2 separate regions of the Homo sapiens genome follow, and region 1 is linked to region 2. The links are contacts of gene promoters, found by promoter capture Hi-C in human tissues and cell types (Jung and others, 2019). All regions are on one chromosome and are shown on one strand. Each heading gives the region's core, a stretch centred on a gene start or on the middle of the fragment in contact. The rest is flanking DNA. Distances are from core to core; before and after follow the strand shown. Region 1 overlaps LOC105372316 (a long non-coding RNA gene). Region 2 holds the start of ZNF737 (zinc finger protein 737).

Region 1 (4,003 bases), core at 127-2,626, 42 kb before region 2:
TGTGATGGTCCAGGAGGCTTCTGAGGTGATTAGGCAGTGTCAGTCTTCAGCCGCTAAGCCAAGAATATCTGGGAAGGAGTCAGTCAGAGAGCCTTGGGCTAGAGTTCCAGGGGCTCTAGGAGTGGCTGCCAGGCGAGCTGGACAGTCTGATTCCCAGTGGGGTCCCGCACAGATGGGACATGGCTTAGGAGGAATCCTGGGCTGCAGGCATTCCTTGGCCCAGTGGCCAGATTTCTGGCACTTGAAGCAAGATCCTGAGGGAGGCGGTCCTGTAGGAATGCCTGACCACTGTGGCTTAGGCATTTTGAAGTTCTTGTGTGCTGGAGGTGTGGCTGGGTTTTGTCTCATAGCAGAGGCAAGTAATTTTTACTCTTCTCTATTATTGTACACCTTGAAGGCAAGGTTAATTAAGTCCTATTGTGGGGTTTGAGGGCAAGAATCTAATTTTTGGAGCTTTTCTAATGTTGGGAGTGGGTTGGGTAATAAAATACATATTGAGAATAAGACGGCCTTCTGCCCTTTCTGGGTCTAGGGCGGTAAACCATCTAAAGTTGTTGCCAAATGGGCCATGAACTGGGTTGAGTTTCTATATTTGATGAAAAAGAGCCTAAATGCTAACTGATTTGGGAAAGGTCAGATAAAGAAAAAGGAGTGTTAACCTTGGCTATGGCTTCAGCTCCAGCCACCTTTTTAAGAGGAAATTGTTGGGCAAGTGGGAGAGGGCTAGTCATGGAATGAAACTGTAAGCCAGACCGGGTGTGAGGAGGGGAGGTGATAAAAGGATTATAGGGTGGGGGAACGGAGGCTGATGAAGAACTGGGACCTGGCTTGGCCTGGCGAGGAGCAGCTTGGGGAGGAGAGGACAGGTGGGTCTGTAGAAAAGGAAGATTGAAAAGACTCAGTGATGCTTGGGGTTGGGACTGAAGGGACAGGTGGGAGGGAAAGAAGGAGGATTTGTGATGAGTCGCATTGGGAACAGAGATTAGGGAGGGACCAATGTGTAAAAGAATGCCTGGACATCAGGCATCTCACACCATTTGTCTTTTTTGACAAAAATCATCCAGGTCTTGTAAAATGGAGGAATCAAAAGTGCCATTTTCTGGCTATTTAGAACCATTATAGAGTTTGTATTGGGGCCAAGTGGTGTTGCAGAAGAAAATAAGATGCTTAGGTTTTAGGTCAGGTGAGAGTTGAAGAGGTTTTAAGTTTTTAAGAACACAGGCTAAGGGAGAAGATGCAGGAATGGAGGTCAGAATGTTGCCCATAGTGAAGGATGTAAGTTTAAGGAGAAAGGTAGAGACATGGAGAAGAGGGTGGTGAGCAGCCCTGGGCTGCAATATGGGTGAGCATCCAAAGCAGGTGTCCCCGCAATTAACTTGCCACCAAGGGAATGTGGGTGAATGACCAAGGCAGATGTCCCCACGGTGATCAGACGCCAATGAAATGTGGGTGAATAATCAGGCAGGCATCCCCACAGTGATTAAACACCAAGGGAAAACTGTCTTCCTGAGTCTAAGACTGGCACCGGAGTTTTGGGTCCACGGATAAAATGTGTCTCCTTTGTCTGTACTAGAGAGGAAAAAGAACTGGAGTTGGAAGGACAGGGAGATTGAAGGGTAGCAAGAGAGGCTGGAGAAGAGAGTGAAAAGACCGCTTACCCGATTTGAAATTGGTGAGATGTTCCTTGGACTGGTTGGTCTGAGGACCCGAGGTCATAGGTAGATTTCCTCACGGAGTGAGGGCGGGGACAGGCCTCCCGAAGGATTACCTCTGTCCTGGGTTTTTGGCACCAAATGTCATGCGTGTCCATGTGAAGAGCCCACCAAACAGGCTTCGTGTGAACAATAAAGCTTTTTAATTACCTGGGTGCAGGCAGGCTGAGTCCAAAAAGAGAGCGAAGGGAAATAGGGGTGGGGCCATTTTATAAGATTTGGGTAGGTAATGGAAAATTACCGTCAAAGGGGGTTGTTCTCTGGTGGGCAGGGGCGGGGGTCACAAGATGCTCAGTGGGGGAGCTTCTGAGCCAGAAGGAATTTCACAAGGTAATGTCATCAGTTAAGGCAGGAACAGGCCATTTTCACTTCTTTTGTGATTCTTCAGTTACTTCAGGCCATCTGGATGTATACATGCAAGTCACAGTGGATATGATCGCTTAGCTTGGGCTCAGAGGCCTGACATGCGTGTTTATCTATAAATACGATGCCAATTTTACTTATGGCTTATCTCATATTCTTTGTTAGCTGATTTTCGATGGTAGTTTTATCTTGTCTAAGTGAGTAGTCGTGGAGATAGTCATTATCACGATGTGTTTAATGATGAATATATATTTTCTTTTTGTGAGAGAAACACTTTTGTGATTTGAAGTTAATTTTTAAAAAGATTTACCATTCTGTATTTTTGTCAGTTTTTCCTTGAAAACGTTGTTTTAAAAACACATAACATAAAATTTACCATCTTAAATTTATTGAAGTGTATATTTCACAGCCAGCTGTGGTTGTGGCTCTCATCTGTAATCCCAGAATTTTGGGAGGTCAAGACAGGAGGATATCTGGAGCTGAAAAGTTTGAGACCAGCCTGGGGAATACATGGAGACCCCTCTCCATAAAAAAAAACTTAATAGTAGCCAGGTATGGTGGTGTGCAGCTGTGGTCCCAGCTACATGGGAGATTGAGGAGGAGTCAAAATTGTGCCTCTACACTCCAGCTTGGGTGACAGAGTGAGACCCTGTCTCAAAAAAAAAAAAAAAAAAATGCTGTTCACTTCAGGCATGTTAAGTATATTCACATTGTTGTGCAAAAGATTTCTAGAAACTTTACATATTGCAAAACTAAAACTCAGTAACCATTAAGTAACAACATCTCATTTTACCCTCTCTCCAGCTTTTGGCAGACAAAACTTCCACTTTTTGTTTTTATGATTTTGACTACTTAAGATATCTCATATAAGTGGAATCATACGGTATCCATAATTTTGTTACTGGATTAATTCAACTGACATAATATTCTCAATGTTCATCTTAAAATGTGACAAGATTGTTCTTTTTAAGGTGGAATAATATTCCATCGCATGTATATGTTACATTTTTTGATACGTTTATAAATCAAGGAACATCTAGGTTGCTTCAGACTTTTGGCTTTTGTGAATACTGGTATAATAAAGATGAATTTTCAAATATGCCTCCCAGGTCCAGTGTTGCATTTTTTTTTTTTTTTTTTTTCCCGCAGACGGAGTATTGCTTTGTCGCCTAGGCTGGAGTGCAGTGGTGTGATCTTGGTTAACTGCAACTTCTGCCTCCTGGGTTCAATCGATTCTCCTGCTTCAGCCTTTCGAGTAGCTGGGATTATAGATACCCACCACCACACCCAGCTAATTTTTTGTACTTTTAGTAGAGATGGGGCCAGGCTGGTCTCAAACTCCTGACCTCAGGTGATCTGCCCCCTCAGCCTCCTAAATTACTAGGATTATAGGCTTGAGCCACTGTGCCTGGCCTTCGTTACATATTTTGGATATAGATTTATAAATGAGGAACATTTATAATTTTTAAAATAATGGCTGCATCTTTGTTTTCCACCAACATTCAATATGGATTTCATTTTTATTGTATCATCAACAGATTTGGTGTTTTAAAAAAATTTATCATGGCCATATTAATGGGTATGAGGTGATTTTGTTTGTCATTGTGGTTTTTTTTTCATTTCTTTACAAATTAGTAATTTTATGTGTCCTTTCAAATGCTTTTTCTCATTTGTGTACTTTTCTAATGAAAATGTTGTTTGTCCGTTTCTAAATCAAGTTATTCAACCTTATTTTTTAGTTTTAAGAGTTGTTTATATATTTTGAATATTAACTTCTTTCATGTTTAATTTGCAAATGTTTTCACCTATTTTCTAAGGGATGTCATTACTCTTGAATTGTTTTTTGGTATGAAGAAATTTTGAAGCCTATTGTAGTTAAAACTTTTCTGTTATTTCATTTGCTGCTCATGTATTTAATTTTGTATCTA
Region 2 (4,077 bases), core at 575-3,074:
AGATCACGACCATTTTGGCCAACATGTTGAAACCCCCTCTCTACTTAAAATACAAAAGAATTAGCTGGGTGTGGTGGCACGTGCCTGTAATCCCAGCTACTCAGGAGGCTGAGGCAGGAGAATTGCTTGAACCCAGGAGGTGGAGGCTGCAGTAAGCCGAGATCACGCCACTGCACTCCAACCTGTTGACAGAGCGAGACTCTGTTTCAAAAAAAAAGTAAATAAATAAAATAATGTAGTAAAAAATTAGTCATATGGGAACACTTCTAGAAGGTACCATGTTTCATCACATATAATTTAGCATTTAACTCAGAACTCAACAGGATATAGAACTGAGATATTCACTGTCACAAATTTCCCCTGCAAAAAGAGGAACTAATGTGTTGACGAATCTATGTAACTCATCAATTATCTACCACATTTTCCTGTGGAAATATATTCATTGTCTACAGCCAAAATGGAAGAGAGATTTTCCCTATTTTTTTCCTTGGTAACTAGCATTCCTGGCTAACATACTGAAACTCCATCTCTACTAAAAATACAAAAATTAGCTGGGCGTGGTGTCGCGTGCCCATAGCCCCAACTACTCCAGAGGCTGAAGCAGAAGAATGCTTGAACCTGAGAGGCGGAGGTTGCAGTGAGCCGAGATCTGACACTGCACTCCAGCTCTGGCGACAGAGCGAGACTCCGTCTCAAAAAAAAAAAAATAAAAATAATAAATTGAGGAACATGGGGTACACTTGAGGCCTTGCTTGAGACACATGTGGAAAATGCCAGGGAAAATCAGTCCGCTGTGGCGTGTGAAAATAATTAAGTGGCAGGCAATTAGACTGAAGAAGCTCTAGTCCCTGGATTTCTACCTCAAAAAAAAAAAAATCTAAGCTCATGTGCATTTTTTGGGAAATTACTACATTAGGGGAAACAAAATTCAGGCTTAAGCAACTATAAACTGCCAATTAAACTGTAATTACATAACCAGGAATTTTTTTTTTTTTTTTGAGACGGAGTCTCACTGTCGCGCAGGCTGGAGTGCAGTGGCAAGATCTCAGCTCACTGCAACATCCACCTCCGGAGTTCAAGCGATTCTCTCACTTCTGCCTCCCGAGAAGCTGTGATTACAGACATCTGTCATCACACCCAGCTAATTTTTGCATTTTTAGTAGACATGGGGTTTCCCCATTTGGGCCAGGCTTATCTTGAAGTCCTGACCTCAAGTTATCCGCCTGCCTCGGCCTCCCAAAGTGCTGGGATTACAGGCGTGAACGACTGCGCCCGGCCCCATAAATTTTGAATAGCAGAAAACAGAAACTGTGAACTCCACGGACCAAAGCTCTTCCCATTCATGAACCTGCACCCCGAGTCAGGATTCTCCCCTGACGACCCTCTGGTGGTCCCTGCACATTCTGGGAGAGACGGGAGGCTGCGGTTGCAGAGCTGCCCACGGAGCGCTCCAGGCCAGAGCAGTCACTACGCAGGGAAGACACAGGACGCCAGGGGGCCCGGCTGTCAGCGTAGCCGCCAAATTATGGCTGAACGGGACTGAGGCCGAGCTGGGCAAGGAGAACTCAGGGTGCAGATTGTGGAGCTGACTGCGCAGAGGCCTGAGTCCCGCCACAGCCACTTCCCACCGGTTCCAACCAGCCTATCCCCCTCTCTCGGGATGTCGGACCGGCACTCTCACCATTTCTAGGCTTCCAGGGGCTCCCGGGCGTCTTAGCTGTGGATCTCCCAATACCTGCAGGACACAGGGCCACAGAGGCTGGGCCTCTAGGAGCAGAGGACACACAGCAGTGAAGACAAGACCTGGAGCTCCGGCTGCAGAGACAAAGGCCCCGCAAAACCCGGAAGCCTTCCGCTTCACTCTGGCTGCGTGCCTGATTGGACGGCTTCCAGCCCAGCGTCCCTGATTGGATAATGCTTAAATCCCCGCCCCCTCAGGCCCTGAGTGACAGAAGATATGATCAGATGCTGGGTTAAGTGAACAAAGAGTGCCAGCCTAAGCAGCTGGCTTTTCAAACAGTGCTTCCTCCCTGAGCTGAGCCAGGCCCACCCCAGAGCATGGGAATATTTTATCTCTTGTTTACTCTCTTTCTTGTTGAATGTATTAAAAAGGTGAACAGAAGTATTTTGCTGTCATTAATAATACATAAAATTTTTGTTCAACAGAAAATCAACTTTTACTTTGGTAATGGTAAAATCTATTAAAGCTAATTTTAATAAAACCTTATAAATAAATCAAATTTGTCATTTTTGAGCACTCCAGATTTACATATATATTTTGTAATATCTCGTAATTTTAAAAAACTATTTATATTTTATTTTTGTCCACATTCTTTTTATTTTTTCAATTTGAAACAATCTTTAATTTCCAACAGCTATAGGAGATAGAAATCATTTAGAGGCAGGCACGGATAGTTCACGCTGGTAATTCCAACACTTTGGGAGGCCAAGGTGAGCAGATCACTTGAGGTCAGGAGTTCAAGACAAGCCTAGCCAACATGGTGAAACCCCATCTCTAATAATAACTAATAAATAATAATAATAACTAATAATATAAAAAGTTACCTGGGTGTGGGGGTGCACATCTGTAGTCCCAGCTACACCGGAGGCTGAGGCAGGAGAATCACTTGAAGCCAGGAGGCGGAGGTTGTGTAACAGCCCAAGGGGTTTATTTTACCCTTTGCCTAGACAGAGCCGATTCATCAAGACAGGGGAATTTGTGGAGGAAAAGTCACATATTAAATCTGAACTCAATTGAATGTGGACACAAACAATTGTCACCAAGTCCCAGAACAGGTTGTGTGAGCCCCTGAGGTGTTCATCCAGCGCTGTATTGAAGAAATCTCTATTTCAATCTATTCCTATATATTAGTTGTTGAAAAACAATAGACAATCACAAAAAAAGGTTGACCTTTTTGTGTTCCTTGAGGCAAGTCGTGAAGGGCTCTCATCACTGGGCCTTATGCCAAACAACTCGTTACAAAAGAGCTAAGGTCCCAGACCGCCCTGAAGCTTCATAAGACCTCTCCTTGTCTGTGTACGATGGACGGGTGGCTGACTCTAGAGCTGTGGCTGTTGCCTCCCTCTCTGGTGGTGAATCCCCCATAGTCTGGTGAGGGAAAATATATATATATATATATATATATATATATATATATCTTTTCCCATTTCCTCGTCTTATTAAGATTGGCTTATTACATCAATCTGCTTATTATATTTATTTGCTTATTATATCATTTGCTTATTATATTATTACTTTATTATGTCTGCATTGCCATTTACGTGGGATAAAAGTTGTTTACCCTTAATGGTATTGTGTGTGTGTCTTTGTTTCTCCCCTCTCACATTTGCCTCACAGAACATTTTTGGCATCACAAATAGGATTTGAAAACAAAAGTGTACCCCTTTTTGACTAGAAGGACAGGGCTGGAGGGCTCAGGGACTTCCCATATCCTGGGATGGGAACTCCCCCAGTTCTCCCTCTTGGTGATTAAATGGTCAAGGGGAACTGGTTTTTGTGGGAATTGGGAATCTAAATTAGTGCAGTTTAAACCTTTGACTGTGCGGGAAGTGCTGCGGGGGATTCCAGTCAGCAAAGGAGATGCTGAGGGATCTCCCGGAGTGGATGGTGTTTGCTTACTGCTTATAAGTTAATGTATCGTGATAGGGGCTGGTTGCTACAAGATAAATGTAAGCGGAAAAGGAAAATGCTAATCTGACTTCCAGACTGGCCCAATGCCAGTCAATGTCTTGACTGATAAAGCTCAAAGCTATCAGCCTATCGCTGAAAAAAGCAGCTGTCCAGGTGGCCCAGTCAGGATAAAACTGAAGAACTAGTCAGCCGGGGCTTCGAGCAGGTAAAAACCCAGTTCCTATTTCAAAAATGGGAAATTAACCCTAGTAAAATTCAAGGACCTGCACAAAGTATAAAATTCCTTGGCATTTTATGGAATGCAAATAAATAGTCCATTTTACCAAAGGCTAAGGCTAAAATACTAGATTTTGCAACCCCTACCACTAATGTACTGGCTTGTTTGGTTTCTGGAGACATCATATTCCCCACTTGGGTAACATTTT

What was found. The method cuts DNA at HindIII sites, captures the fragments that hold promoters and counts their contacts. A contact is called where the count stands out against the background at its distance.
Region 1: a fragment that was not itself captured here is called in contact with the fragment with the promoter of ZNF737 in region 2 in 1 of the 25 tissues and cell types used here (mesendoderm cells).

What each region holds. Positions count from the first base shown.
Region 1 is chr19:20,522,294-20,526,296 of GRCh38, forward strand. All of the region lies in intron 2 of LOC105372316 (a long non-coding RNA gene), which reads left to right. Among named protein-coding and RNA genes, the nearest start is that of ZNF737, 41 kb to the right of the region's middle. The HindIII fragment of the contact is 4,311 bases long and covers 1-3,532 here.
Region 2 is chr19:20,563,957-20,568,033 of GRCh38, forward strand. ZNF737 (zinc finger protein 737) reads right to left here and starts at 1,825. Exons shown (of 4, transcript NM_001159293.2): 1 at 1,682-1,825. The coding sequence starts at 1,684. All of the region lies in intron 2 of LOC105372316 (a long non-coding RNA gene), which reads left to right. RefSeq lists enhancers at 1,258-1,417, 1,628-1,677. The HindIII fragment of the contact is 4,540 bases long and covers 1-3,668 here.